2 separate regions of the Homo sapiens genome follow, and region 2 is linked to region 1. The links are contacts of gene promoters, found by promoter capture Hi-C in human tissues and cell types (Jung and others, 2019). All regions are on one chromosome and are shown on one strand. The core of a region is centred on a gene start or on the middle of the fragment in contact, and the rest is flanking DNA. Distances in the headings are between cores, read along the strand shown. Region 1 holds the start of FOXB2 (forkhead box B2). Region 2 overlaps PCSK5 (proprotein convertase subtilisin/kexin type 5).

What was found. The method cuts DNA at HindIII sites, captures the fragments that hold promoters and counts their contacts. A contact is called where the count stands out against the background at its distance.
Region 2: a fragment that was not itself captured here is called in contact with the fragment with the promoter of FOXB2 in region 1 in 1 of the 25 tissues and cell types used here (lymphoblastoid cells).

Annotation. Positions count from the first base shown.
Region 1 is chr9:77,016,737-77,023,612 of GRCh38, reverse strand. FOXB2 (forkhead box B2) reads right to left here and starts at 3,958. Exons shown (of 1, transcript NM_001013735.1): 1 at 2,660-3,958. The coding sequence starts at 3,958. The coding sequence ends at 2,660. The HindIII fragment of the contact is 6,747 bases long and covers 446-6,876 here.
Region 2 is chr9:76,221,300-76,228,175 of GRCh38, reverse strand. It overlaps PCSK5 (proprotein convertase subtilisin/kexin type 5), which reads right to left. Exons shown (of 38, transcript NM_001372043.1): 21 at 571-673. Among named protein-coding and RNA genes, the nearest start is that of RFK, 170 kb to the left of the region's middle. The HindIII fragment of the contact is 4,753 bases long and covers 1,934-6,686 here.

The DNA of each region.
Region 1 (6,876 bases), core at 2,709-5,208:
TAACAGAGAGGAAAACCTCACAGGAAACGTGGCAGTCTCAAGCTGGAAGAATGGGATATACTCCCGAATTGTTTGAGCCCCCAAAACAAAACTTCTGGCCTAAGAAATGTCTCCCAGGCGAAGTCAAAACTTTGAGGCACGCCGCAATGGGATTTGTAAATAAGGGATTCGTTGAAACACCTAGTTTTAAGATGTAACCTAACTTCCTCCCCATTCCTGCCCCTGCCATTGTCATTCTGTGCATGGGTGGTCTTTTGGCTTTTTATTTTATTCTGATGAAAGGTCAGAGGTGACTTTCGTTGGCCTGGCTGGGCACACGGAAGCTGGTTCAAAGTAGACCTGTGCTAAAGGGTGGAGGGCGGAGGCCGGGACGCGGCTTCCCAGGCCCCAGCGGAGGCGCCGCACCCTGCCGGGGCCTCCTGGCCCACTCCCAGAGCAGCTCTGCAGCAGCCGCTGCCCAAGGGTTCCCTTCCCGCAGCTCGAGCAGCTTGGCCGCCGGCTTTCACCCACCAAGAACTCTGCGGTCCCAGGCCCCAGGCTGTGGCCTCCCGCGAGGCGCGGTGTCGGCGCGCAACAGGTCTTCTAGGCGGCGGTGGCTGGGCGCGCTTGCCTAGTTGATGCGGCAGCGGCAGTGTCCCGGCGCCAACCCGGCTGCCTCCGTCCAGGACCGCAGACTTAAGGGGGCGCCGTCGGGCACCCACCCCGCTGACACCGAGTTCCTGGCCTTAGATGGTAGTCGAGGACCTCAAAATGGGAGAGAGGTGACGGATAGTGGTGACAGGAAAAACGCACTGTTGCGGGTTTTTGCTAATTCAGTCTCTACCATGGTGGTGGACTTAAGTTCAATTAGGAAACGGACATATTAAAAATAGGTGGTGGCCGGGCGTGATGGCTCACGCCTGTAATCCTAGCACTTTGGGAGGCCCAGATGGGACGATTGTTTGAGATCGGAAGTTCGAGACCAGCCTGGTAAACATAGTGGGATCTTGTCTCTAAAATACTACTACTAATAATAATAGATAGTAAAAGAGATGATTGTGCCAAAGGCTGAAAGGAGCAATGAAGGAAATCGGTGCTTACTGGTGGCTCGCCCGTGTACTCACCCCTTTGAAGTTCTGAAGTTAAGAAATAAGAGGGAGGGGAAGGATTTGCAAAGTACCCTAACCTAACTGTGGGCACTCAAACCACGGCCTCATCCTTGGAGAACTGAAACACCTTCACACGGGGCTAGCATAGATATCCAGAGAGAAGCTTTAATAGAGAACACCGCGTACAACACCAGCAGACATAAACAAAGTCACAACCCGAACGCGGCGCGGACAAGAGGCGGAGGTGACTTAGAGCCAAAGGGCAAAGCGGATTTCTCCCCACTCTGCCCCCCTCCATTCCCAAAATTGTGTCGCGAGTAAAGTGCTATTCCCTGGGGCTCAAGAGGGGGGAAGGGCAAGAGCGACAAGGCAAGTTTCTTTCCCATTCACGAATTGAAACTGAAGAATTAATTCGCCTGAAAGACATAAGCGCTCAAACAGCACACGGAATACAAAAACAGCCGCAGCGTGCAAAGGTGACTGGGTGGTCCCCTTGCTTCCGTCCGAGGAGACTGGAAGGGAACAGCCATGGAACGTTTCTGCAAGCGTTAAGAGCAATATTGTCGAGTGATGTGCCGAGTTTTTCCTGCATTCGTAAGTTAGGGAAACAAAATCCCGCTATACAAGTGATTTGTTTCCTTAAAATTCCAAATAGAAAGGATCGTGGGAATTCACATTATTCTTGGGCTCTCATCCGACTGATACCCAAACAAGTTGCAGGTGGAAAGTCGCCTGTATTGTCTCCCTTTGGTTGTGTTTCCCAACTTTTGGAATTTGGGGCTTTACCCTTTAAGCTGCTGCCATTCTCTTTTGTACAAACTAATTGCTCTAGAGGTTCCTCCTATCCTTCTTGACCCCCAGGTCAGAGCCAAGAACCTTAGCTGTTTCCCAAAGATATTTCGTGGGGTTCCCGCTGCCTCCTCTCCTCCCCTTCCCCCTCCAAAGCGACTTTATTCATGACACCGTTTCCTTGCCCATTTAGCTGACTAGGAAAATAACGGTATCAAACGCTTCCTCTTTTCCTTCTTAAATAAAACGAAATTTCCTTAGTGGACGGCAGTTTTGTCTTGAATGTTCACGAGAGGCGACCGCCGAGGATGCGACCAGCAGAGAGAAACGTGGTGGCTGAGATCCGTTTCAGCGTCACTCTCTGTTGGATTCTTCGCGGGAGGTTTAGCTCTGCCAGCTTCTGCTCCCAGGAATAAGGGTCAGAATCGACTTCCAATTTACCAGCGAATGAGGCTTTCCTAACCTCCTTCGTTCCCTCCCCCCATAACTTATGGATTTATATTAATTACAATAGAAACTCTTACCTGAAAATTGGCTTTCATTAATCTGATTGTACAACATAGTATAAACACAGACACCAGGAAGGTTATATTTATTCAGACCACTGGAGAATCCACTTTTCGGGGTTGTTCGTCTATTTAAATACCTTCCGTTCCAGCAAAGGCTGAGACTCGCCAGCTCTGCCCGGCCTGACCAGGGCGCCCTCTCCCCGTCGGGTGGTTTGGGCGGTTCCGGGCCCGGCGTCTCTCACCCCGCTGGTCTCCCCACGCCCGCCGGGTCCCCTAGGAGTGCACTAGCACCGAGTGCAAGGAGCCGCCCTTGCTTTCGGCCGAGGTAGGGGCTGTGGGCTCCAGCAGAGAGGCAACGGGCGAGGCCGCGGCCGCGGAGCACACGGTGGATGGCGCCGGAGGCTGCTGCGAAGCCGCGGGGACAGTGAGCCCCGGCTGCAGCGCGGACACGGGCGGCAGCGCAGGCGTGGGCTTGATGGGCACCGGCATGGCAGGCAGGCTCTGGCTTGCCGAGTGGCACAGGGACTTGACCGGGACCCCGAAGGCCCCATACTCCGGGCCTACAGGGACTCCGGCTGCGGCTGCGGCGGCCGCGGCGGCGGCCACCGAATCCATGACGCCAACGTGCGGCCACACGGAGCTGACGACGTTGCCAAGCTGGCCGGGCACGGGGTAGCCCAGGTGGTGCATGACGGACGCCAAGGGCAGCCCTCCAGCCTGCAGCACGCCCTTGTAGTCCCGGCCAATAATGTTCTCAATGGCAAAGGGGTGCTTGAAGCCTGACGTGGACGCCGCGGCCGCGGCGGCAGCGGCGGCGGCCGAGCCCAGCCCGTAGGGTGGGAACTGAGACAGGCGTCCCACGCTGCCCACCGCGGCTGCCGCGGCCGCCGCCGCCGCCGCCGCCACGGCCGCCGCCTCCTGCATCTTGCCGGGGTGAGACGGCTGCTGAGGCTGCGACTGCTGGGGCGGTTGCTGCGGGGGCTGTGACGGGAGGTGCGGAGGCGGCTGCGGAGCAGTAGGCGGTTGCTGATGGAAATAGTGTACCATGTGCGGCGGCGGCGGGGGCGGCGGCGGCGGCGGCTGGGGTGGGTGGTGGTGATGGTGGTGGTGTGCGGCAGCGTGGTGATGATGGTGGTGGTGGGGGTGGTGGTGGTGATGGGGGTGAAGGTGCCCTCCCGGACCGGCGCCCGGCGCGCTCTTGGTGCTTCCCGCGTGCAAGTGAGTATGGTCGGCGCGCAGCACCTTGAAGCGCTTGCGACGCCGCAGGAAGCTGCCGTTCTCGAACATGTCCCCGCAGTCGGGGTGCAGCGCCCAGAAGCTACCCTTGCCAGGCTGGTCGGGCCTCCGCGGAATCTTGATGAAGCAGTCGTTGAAGGAGAGGTTGTGGCGCAGGCTGTTCTGCCAGCGCTGTGTGTGCTCGCGGTAGTAGGGGAAGCGCTCCATGATGAACTTGTAGATGTCGCTCAGCGGCAGCATCTTCTCGGCCGAGTGCTGGATTGCCATGGCGGTCAGCGAGATGTAAGAGTAGGGCGGTTTTTGGTCGCTGTACGAGCTCTTCCCCGGCCGCGGCATCGCCCCCGGCTCCTCCACCGCCCTCCGGCCCGCACTGGACCACAGAATCTCTCCGCACTCCGTTCCTGGGGCCTGGCTGCCCCCACTAATTCCCACTCGGCCCCTCCAGTCCCGCCACTTTGCCCTCTCGCCCTCCAGGCCCTCTCTGCTTCTCTCTCCTGCCTTCTCCGAATTGCCTGGTGTCTCCGACCTTGGCCTTTCGGGCCTACTCAGCTCTCGGAAGCTGGCAACTTCTGGCCCCGACGGTTGCCGACTGGCGCGCACAGTCGCGGGCGGAGTGCACCAGGTTTACCGCCGCCTTCTCTGCGTCTTCCCCCGGGTGGCCAAAGACTGAGTGCTGGAGCTGGCTGCAGAGGAGAGTGGCAAGGGGCCGTGTTTCCTCCCGGCCTCTTTGCTTTTTCTAGGTCCGAGGGAAACCCAGACCAAGATGGCTGGGAGGAAGGTCTGGGCAGTAGAGACTCTGGCCCTTTAAATCTGAGTTTGCGCCTGCTGTCCTGGAGGCCAGTGACAGCAGGACTTCCAGTGCCCTGGACGCAGGCCCCTGGCCAGGCACTTAGCCAGACCGCGCTGGAGTTCTCCTTTTCCTGGAGTGAAAAATCAGGGTAAGGAGAGAGAAGATTGGCTTCTAGGGCGCCTCTCTTTTCTCCGAGGCTCGCAGCGTCGCCGGGGTTAGAAGAGACGCGCAGCCCTAGGCTGTCGCTGAGGAGAAAAAACTTTGGTGGTTTCTGAAGCGGCAGCGCCCGCAGGTTCTGCTGAGGAGTGTGGGGCGCAGGACTCTGGGAGCGAGCGGCGGGCTGGAGAGGGCGTCTGCGAATGCTGGGTGAGTGCTGGCCGGGGAGGCTCAGCCGTCCGCGCCGCAGCTGCCGCCTTTCTCCCGGGCTTGTCTTGAGGAGGAGAGGCGACGGCAGTGGCAGCGACGCGCTCTCCTGGCTGCGTTTTGTAATGGTCCCCGAGACGCCGAGACCCCCGCAGCTAGCGCTTCGAGACTATCACATGACCGAGGCTGAGGGACTCAGCCGCCGCCGCCGCGTCTGTAGCTGAAGAAGGGGCAAGAAGGCGCCGTGCCTCGCCCCCGCCCCCTTTTCCACCTCGTTTCGGGCGCTCTCCACCCATCGCGTTCACCACTCGCTCGGCAGCCCCCAGCCACCTCCCGGTGCGGCGGGTGGCGCAGGCTGTTCGCCGGGAGGGGGCACAGCTCCGGGTGCATTTCCCGCAGCTGCGCCCCACCCGGGCCACCAAGCACGGTGGAGGGGGAACAGGACACTGCCTTCTTGCTTCTCTTCTCTCTGGCATCTCCCTCTTCCGCCCCCTTCCTTTTACCCTTCCCTGTTTTCATCTACTCGCTGTGAGCTTCTCTCTCCTTACAAACCCTTTTTCCTGGGCTAGACACTCTGGGTCAAGTTCAGAGTATCGTGTCCTCAAGGCCTCTTCTCTGCAAGAAACCCCGATGATTAGAGGGCTGGAGGGAAAAACTCATGGGGAAGAAAGCATGGGGTGTTTTCACCAAATGCCAAATTCATCTCAGTTTTATTGCGCGCCAACTGCATGTGAGGCACCAGGTGCAGGGAGACAGGAGACAGTATCCGAGCTCCACCATCGCGGTATAGAGGGTGAGACGAACAGTAACCAAGAAATTAATAGAATAGGCACTAAAGGGCTTGGCGAATGGAGGCTCCACCACACTTTCCTGGAGCGAGTGAGTTGGACAAGATGAGGTTTCTCTGGGATGGCGATGTCTGAGCTGGGGCCAGAAGTAAGAGTTGGGGATTCAGGGGTCCCATCACCTGTGTGTGCTGGAAGGAAATCTTTGCTATTCTTAGCACGGTGGTGTGGGGCCAGGGCGAGGCAGGAGGTGGAATGGAAATAATTAAATAGGAAGCAAAAATTATCAGTCCACAGGATCCTGGTGTGATCTGCGAGGGAGAGGTGGATGAACCCAGGAGTGAGGTCCTTCTGCTTGGAGGTTCCTGCTCTGCACTCATCCAAACACCCAGCAGGAAACCCCAGTTTACTGCAGGGAGAACCTGAAGTTGTATACTCGTTTTGGCTACCTTTGCCCTTCAGCTGGGAGGAAAAGCAGAGTTTAGAAACAAGTATACTCTCCGTCTCTGGGACTGTTTCATTATTTGTAAAATAGGGTGGCTGAAGTTGGAAATTCACGGGTCCTTTCCCGTTAGGCGATTTGAGGAGAAAGGAGCATTTGGACACTATGGCTCCCTCGGTTTTCCCACGCCTAACCTGGAAGAAAGCCATCGGCCCAGCTGCTTGGGGGGCTGCCCCCTAACTAGCAACCTTGGTGACACCAGATCGGGTGTTTTCAGCTTCTGGCTTTTGGTGAGCTGGACGGTGGGAGCACGTCTGTCCGTGGGGTGGCTTAGCCAGGTCGCAGGAGTGCCGTGAGCGGGTCAGGCCCGTAATTTCCATCTTTAGTCAGGAGCTAGATTTCTGGCTAGCTCTATGTGGCCAGTTTGTCCTAGGCCAGAAGACGTCTGAGAATAGATGTTACGACTGAAGCTTGCAAGAAGGCCCGGGGAAAAGAGCAGCTTCTTGGTCCTAAGCCCTTTTCAAAGTAAGATGTTTTCTCTTTCACTGTATGTCGGAAGCTTTCCTCCTGCCATAGGAGTTTCTGCGCGATTTTTGTCCGCTGAGACACTTGAGAGAGCCGAGCAGCGGACAGCCTCTTGGCCTCGGGAAGCCACAGAATTCCAAGGACGCTCACAGTTTGACAAGAGCCTGCTGGAGCCAGGTGGCTCCTTTTCCTTGGAACAAGACCGTGAGACAACAGCCCTGTCCCAGCCCAGGAAGCTGGGGTCTCCTGCACCGCTGTCAGGCCGCTGCTGAGGAGCTCTGCGTGCCGCACACTTAAGGGCTCTCCGGACTTCGACCCCACACGCAGCTCGAGCAAAGGGATCTTTTGT
Region 2 (6,876 bases), core at 3,061-5,560, 800 kb after region 1:
AACATGGTGAAACCCCATCTCTACTAAATGACACAAAAGTTAGCCAGGCGTGGTGGTGGGCGCCTATAATCCCAGCTTCTAGGGAGGCTCAGGCAGGAGAATTGCTTGAACCCGGGAGGCGGAGGTTGCCGTGAGCAGAGATCGCGCCACTGCACTCCAACTTGGGTGACAGAGCAAGACTCTGTCTCAAAAAAAAAAAAAAGAACAGTTCACTTTTGAACTGACTCTAGAAATAAGTAGATACTTGACCAGCAGATGGAAATGATGATTGAGGGACGGGTATGCAGAAAAGGATGAGATTTCAGGCATCAAAGGCACCCTATTGATTGATGAGGAAATCTGTTCCATGTCCAGGGAACTGGTCCTTGTGGTGGGGACTGGGCGTCATGGGGAGAGGATACTACAGAGCTGGGCTGTGCCCAGACCAAGGAGAATATCTGTGGAGTGGGAAAGAGTTTGCTTCTTTTTCACTGCAGGCCCATGAGGTGCTGCTAAGATGGTGAGCACCTCCTCTCTCCACCCTGCAATCCATGAGCTCACACCACCGGGAGATCCTGAGAAGCCACTTACCTTGTCATGGGGCAGGTAGTGCAGTCTTCCTGGGTTGGTCCCTGGCACTTGGCACATGAGGCCTCACAGGTCTGGCAGTGGCCATGCTCATCAACATATTCTCCTGGGGAACAAAATCTAGTTGTTTATTTCATTTCTACATGGCAAGCCTGCCTGGGCTGTCAGTCTGAGAGCAGCCAGATCTCTGTGGCTGCCTGAAAGCAATGCAGACAACACAGAGAGGAGAGGCCCTGAATGGCTTCAGCTGCTAGTCCCAAATCCTGACCTTATCATAACAACTGCTCCTCTCCCGGGGGCTCCAGAAGTTGGAACCTCAAAAAGTTATGAGGCAATGACATATTTCTGAATCTAGTCAACATGTGTTACAGATTTTATAAGTAGGGAAGGCCAAGCGGGGCTTCCCACCAGACCCCTTTACTGAACTCCTGCTGACTTTTCCATTAAAAGCTGAGGTCTCCTGGTCCACAGAGGGCCGTATAGTCTTGGTTCAAGTCAAGCAATGAGCAGGAACCACCTAGATCTTTTCTTACCACCCCATGGGGTAGAGGTGTGGTAATCATGGTTACTGGTCAAGAATGGGTGCTGAGTCTTGGCTGACATTGGGTGATTGTAAGCTACATCTCACTCTGAAAGAGTAATAGTGAAGAAATAGCCAGGGAATTCTTCCTTTAATTGGAAATTTTATCTTTCCCAAGGAAAAACACATATGGGGCCCTGCAACAGAAGCAAATCCAGCCTCACAAGTTTCTTGGAAACATTTTAAGAAATTACTCCCACAGCAAAGGTGGCAGAGGGAGGCCAATCTCATGGAAAGTAAATCTCATAGACTCAAAGATGGGCCTCTACTCACTGAATCCAACCCTCATTGCACTCATCCTAACCTGCTATTGTCTTAAAAAAAATTGACAGGCTTCTTTGGTCAGATCCACAGAGCCACTTTTTCTGGTTTAGAGACTGGTCATGCCCAGAAAATATGGTTTCAGATTTTGGCAGAGACACAACCTCCACTGGACCTCAACCCCCTCCAACTCTGACAGCCCCCATAAGCCATGTCTGAACACTGTCAATCTGAGATCCAGCTGGTGGGGTGAGATAGCAGGACCCGCCCAGGGTTTAATCACGTTGTCTTACTGCAACTCCAAGATTCACTGCCTGATTTAGCATAGTTGCATTGAAAAGAACCCTGGAAACCTAGACTTGACTGGTGAGGAAATGAGGGAAATTCATCCCTCTTTCCCCCATCGCTTTACTGGACTGGTACAGCTAGCATGTAAGTAAATCTTATATATGTAAATTTTACACTTGCTAGCACTAAACCCCAAAGATGACTGTGAAGAGACAACTAGAGTTTGCCTTTATGTAGCAGAAAAAGCCTTTCATGTAGGGTTATTCTATTCATTTTGTTAACAGAAGGGAAAAGTGCATGTTCAGAGTGATGCAAACATCTAATCACAGCACACCCTGCACACCCCGGGCTCTGTTCCTCTATGTCTCCTCATTGTTACCAAGGTACAGTTTGGACTGGGAAACTTATATACAATTTTTAGAATGGGAATGGGACTGTGATTCTTACTTCAGGACTGACTAGGAAACTTCCCAGGAGACCTAGGCCCAAAAGAGTGCATAACCAGCAGGGGCAAAGGCATACCAACAGGTATGCAGGTTGTTCACTGCACAAGGTGCCTACCCACCCGAATGGTCCAGTGGAGGCTGACATCCAGCCCATTTGCTTCACCATGCCAGGCACTCTGGTGTAGGCTGCGCCTGCCTCTGTAGAGGGACACCTTTTATTAACTCATACAAAGGTGTTGACTGGACTGGTTACATTCTTGGTAACCAGTAGCCCTGAGACAGAAAAAAGCTGTGACCTCCATCTAGCAGGAGTGGTGATTTCAAGCTGAGACTGTGTCACTGACTACAGGCATCATCATAGTTATGCAGCCTTCTTTATATTTATTCAGGCTCCTTCACTTCACCTCTTATTTATGGCTTCCACTATTGTTGTAGGAGGCACAATCAATTGAGCAGGGTGATTATCAGTCCAGGTACCAGCAAAATTAAGAGCAGAGGACCCAAGGCAGACTCAGTGGGAAGAAGCAGACCTTGCCTACAGGGGCCAGTGCAAACGATTTGTTTTTACAGTTAGATGATATCTATGTATCTTTCAAAAAAATATGCTGAGTGGAACAAGAATGGAGAGGTTCATAGAAGCTGAAAACCTCACAAAAATCGTATTCTAGAGAAATGTGGACTCAGAGAGCACAGCTTATCCATTCATTCATTTTATGGATATATTTTTTAACACTACATACATGCCAGCTACTAAGGGAGATGTAGAGACATACAAATTAAAAAGACCCTACTCGTGGGTTCTCAAAGATTTTATGCGAGTGATTTATAGATAGTTATAACACAATTGCTAGCCAAGGGACTTCTACTTCCTCAGACAGGCCAGATTAAAAACCAGAACAGAAGAGCAAGGGTGTACACAGGACTCTGCTAGACCCAGAGGCAAAGACAATTACTTTGCCTTGACATCAGTGCCTGTAGGAATGGGCAGAACTCCTCATATTCATCTATCCTCATTTCCATGATGTGTCAGATCCAATGCTAGGATAGGATTTTAAACTAAAACACCTTGCTCTGCTAAATCAAATGCTACTTAGAAGGTTCTGAGAGTTATATCATGTCTGCGCTCAAAGTCTTTATCATACAGATGAGGCATCGTTAGGTTAGTCGAGGGTTATTAAGATATAACTGTGAAAATTTTAAATTTTCTTCTGTATCTCTTGTTTGCCTTCTCATTGGCTTTCATAAACCAGTAGGTGGCTTTAATACTCTGGCTTTGCATGTCTTCAATCTACTCAACTATAATGGCCTCTGTTGGCACTCACAATGTGCTGCCTTAGATATAATGACCCCAAAAGATTACCCCATCTCCAAGATTTTAAATACATCCTCCAGACACAGCTTCTTATGCCATACTATAAGTCTACATCATCCTAGGTGACTCCCTGTCACTGTGCGATTATCCCTTCATTCATCTCTTCCAATCTCTAGCTTGCATCCCCCACCTGGGGTAGGCCAAGCCATCCCAAAGCCCAAGTTCCACCCATTCTTCTGCAAAAGGAGACATCACCTCCTCATTTGCAATAAGATGTCTGAGTTCCCTTGGCTTTTTTTTTTCTCAATGTCAAAAGTCATCTCTGTCTTCTCTTTGGCTTTTTACTTATCTTCTGTCTCCAAAAGAAAGGTCTGCCACTCTTCCTGGCTATTGTCAATTCCCCATCTACTGTTATAATCTTCTTTCCTCAGAATATTTCTCCACCAGTTCCTCTGTGTTTAATCTCTTCCTCACATCTCCAATCCTTGTCTGATCTACAAAAGTTTTCTGCTAACTTAAACCTTCCCAAGCCCTTTCCCTCCCTGATAAGGGACTTGTAAAACTTGTTTTTTCCTCCTACTATTTGGAAACAAAATGGTGAAAACTTCATGACCTTGAAGCTTATGTAAGAGCGTCAGTGTAAGACAACTAAACTGTGCCTGTCTCTCAAGTCTGCATGCCTCTTCACGTTAGAACAGCTGATGAGAATAGAGAAGGCTTCTCCCATTCTCATATTTACGTAGATGTTTAATTAGTTACATAAGCAACTGCCCCCAGCTCTTACAGGCACAAGTTTTCACTGCATGTTTGGAACTGAAGAAACCAGATTCCAAGGACACAGAGAAGTTGCTCTTTTTTGTTGTTTTTGGAGCAGCAAATTCTTGTCATCTGTCTTCATTGCACAATGAAGCTGAATGTTTATGACAGGCATGATATACAAAATTCTTACAAAAAGTCAACTTTTAACAGAGCCTTCAGGAGCCAGTATTTTGTTTTCCACCTCATCCTACAAGCTCTTCTTTCTGGCATCTTCATCCATTGTTATGATTTCCAGATCATCTTTCTCCTGTGATCAAAAAATGTTCCATTCCCCCTTTAGTTTCTTTCTCATCCTATGCTATAATGGTTCAAAGACACTGAGGAAGTGTAGTCACTTGGAGAGGAATGCTACCTCAAAAGTTGAAGACACAGCTTAAAAATTAATACTTATAAATTTTAAAAAGTTACAAGTGGCTTACTGTGCTTATTCCATCTCTTGATAACACTGTAGAATACTATCAACAAGTCCAGATTCTAAGCAAACATTATAAAGTCTTCCAGAATAACTGAACATGTATCATAGCATCCAAAGTTACAACATAAGATTGAAGTATAATCCTTTTTTAGGTTTACATGGCCAGAAGAGCCTCATTTCTCCTGAACAAATGCTACGCTTTCTTTTATACCTCATATTTCCTTATTGGTTACAGCTAAATTTATTGTAGAATTCTAGCAAATAAATATGTACACTGAATAAATTAATCGATACATAAATATGATATTTTATGATGTGAGTTTAAAAACTTTTTAGCAAGATGATTGGTAAGAGAGGATGGGAGGAATTTGATGAGAATTCAGTTGCTTGGTTTTTGATCTAGTTATTTCAGTGAGTAACCTTGGGGTATGAAATTATCTGTAGACTTCCCTGTGAGGCCTATTTATGTGCCTCGTCACTCAGATGCCAGAAATCATAGAGTATGAGTGATTCTACTATCACAAGTGTTAATCAAATAATATTATCTCTTTGCAAGGATGCCAACATGTAGTTTCCAACTTAAGATACCATTCTGTGAAGATAATTTTTATTAAAAACATCTATATGTTTTTTTCGCCAGCTATAATAAATACTCAGCAACACTTTCAGCTACTTATGTACTAATGAAATCAGTTGTTTTTCAAAGCTTTGTTAAGCATAAAGTTTTATAGCAAGGCTCAAACTATGAGGCCATCAACTGAGACTGCAACATCTTTAAGTCAACACAATCATTCAGCCTTAAAAAGAAAGGAAATTCCGACAAACTCTACAACATGGATGAACCTTGAAGACACTATGCTAAATGAAATAAGCCAGTCACAAAAGCACGAATATTGTATTATTTTACTTATATGAGGTAACTGGAGTAGTAAAAGTGATAGAGACAAAGTAGAATTGTAGTTTCCAGGGCCTAAGGGTAGGGGGAAAGGGTTATTTAATGGGTACAGAGTTTCAGTGGAAGAAGATGATGAAGGTCTGGAGATGGATGGTGGTAATGGTTGCAGAGCAGTGTGAATGTATTTAATGCCACAGAACTACACACTAAAAATAGTTAAAATGGTAAATATATATTATGAATATTTTACAATATTTTTTTAAAAAAATATCTACACAAAGAGTTTGTGTCTTAGCAGGCCAATACTTCATTTTAGCCAAAAAACAAAATCAGTATTGCCTGTCTTTGGGGATGGGTCCAAAGGGTATCAACCAATCCACCATCTTGGGAAGCCAGTCTGTTGAAGTGAGGCTTGGGAGACCTCCTGTGATAATGGAAATAAATTGATATATGAATAAAACTTGGGATAAGGGAGACATCTGGCAGATGGAAAACTCTGTCTTCTTCCTTTCCTCAAGGATGCACTAAAGACAGAATGAACATTAGGCAGCTAGAAAGAGGGTTCTACATCCCTACCCTGGAGGTGTCTGGAGGAAATCTCTTCTCTATCCCATTCTCTCAAGGACAACTTGCCCTTGTCCTTCCTGCATATTCTGTTTTTGATTGACAAGACTTATCCTTCCTGGTCCCATTGCTTTTTCATTCTCAGGCAGGCACTGACATTGATCTGTGGGGTTTGTGCAGATGCTCTGAAATGCTACTCTGGCAACCTCATGGGTTGGCACTCCTGCAAAAAGGATGGATCGTAAATTGTGGATCCAACACACACACACAAATATTTAGTTTCCTTCAGCCTACACGTTGTTCAAAGGGCAGAATTAAGAGTTGATCTTTCTAGTTTCCACCGTCGTTTGGCCCTTGACCACAGTCAGGCAGTTAAAAAAGTACATCCAAAGTGAAGTCTTGGCTGACGCACCTGAATGTAGTAGTGATGTAGCAATCATACAAGCTCCTATTCATGGATGCCTACTGTATTACAAGTGCTGTTCTATGTAATATTTAATCCAGACAAAAACCTCTTTTATAAACAAGAAACTGAGGCTCAGGGAGATTAAAAAATCTTGCATAAGTTCATTCAACTAGGTAAGTGGCAGAGCTGGGCTGCGACCCAGGTGTGTCTGAGACTGAGCCCATGCTCTTTCTACGATATTTGCTGGTATGGATTCATTTCCCCCTTTAGTGTTCCAAGTAGCTTTGCTATTTATAAAAAGAAAGAACTGAGTACATGCCTCA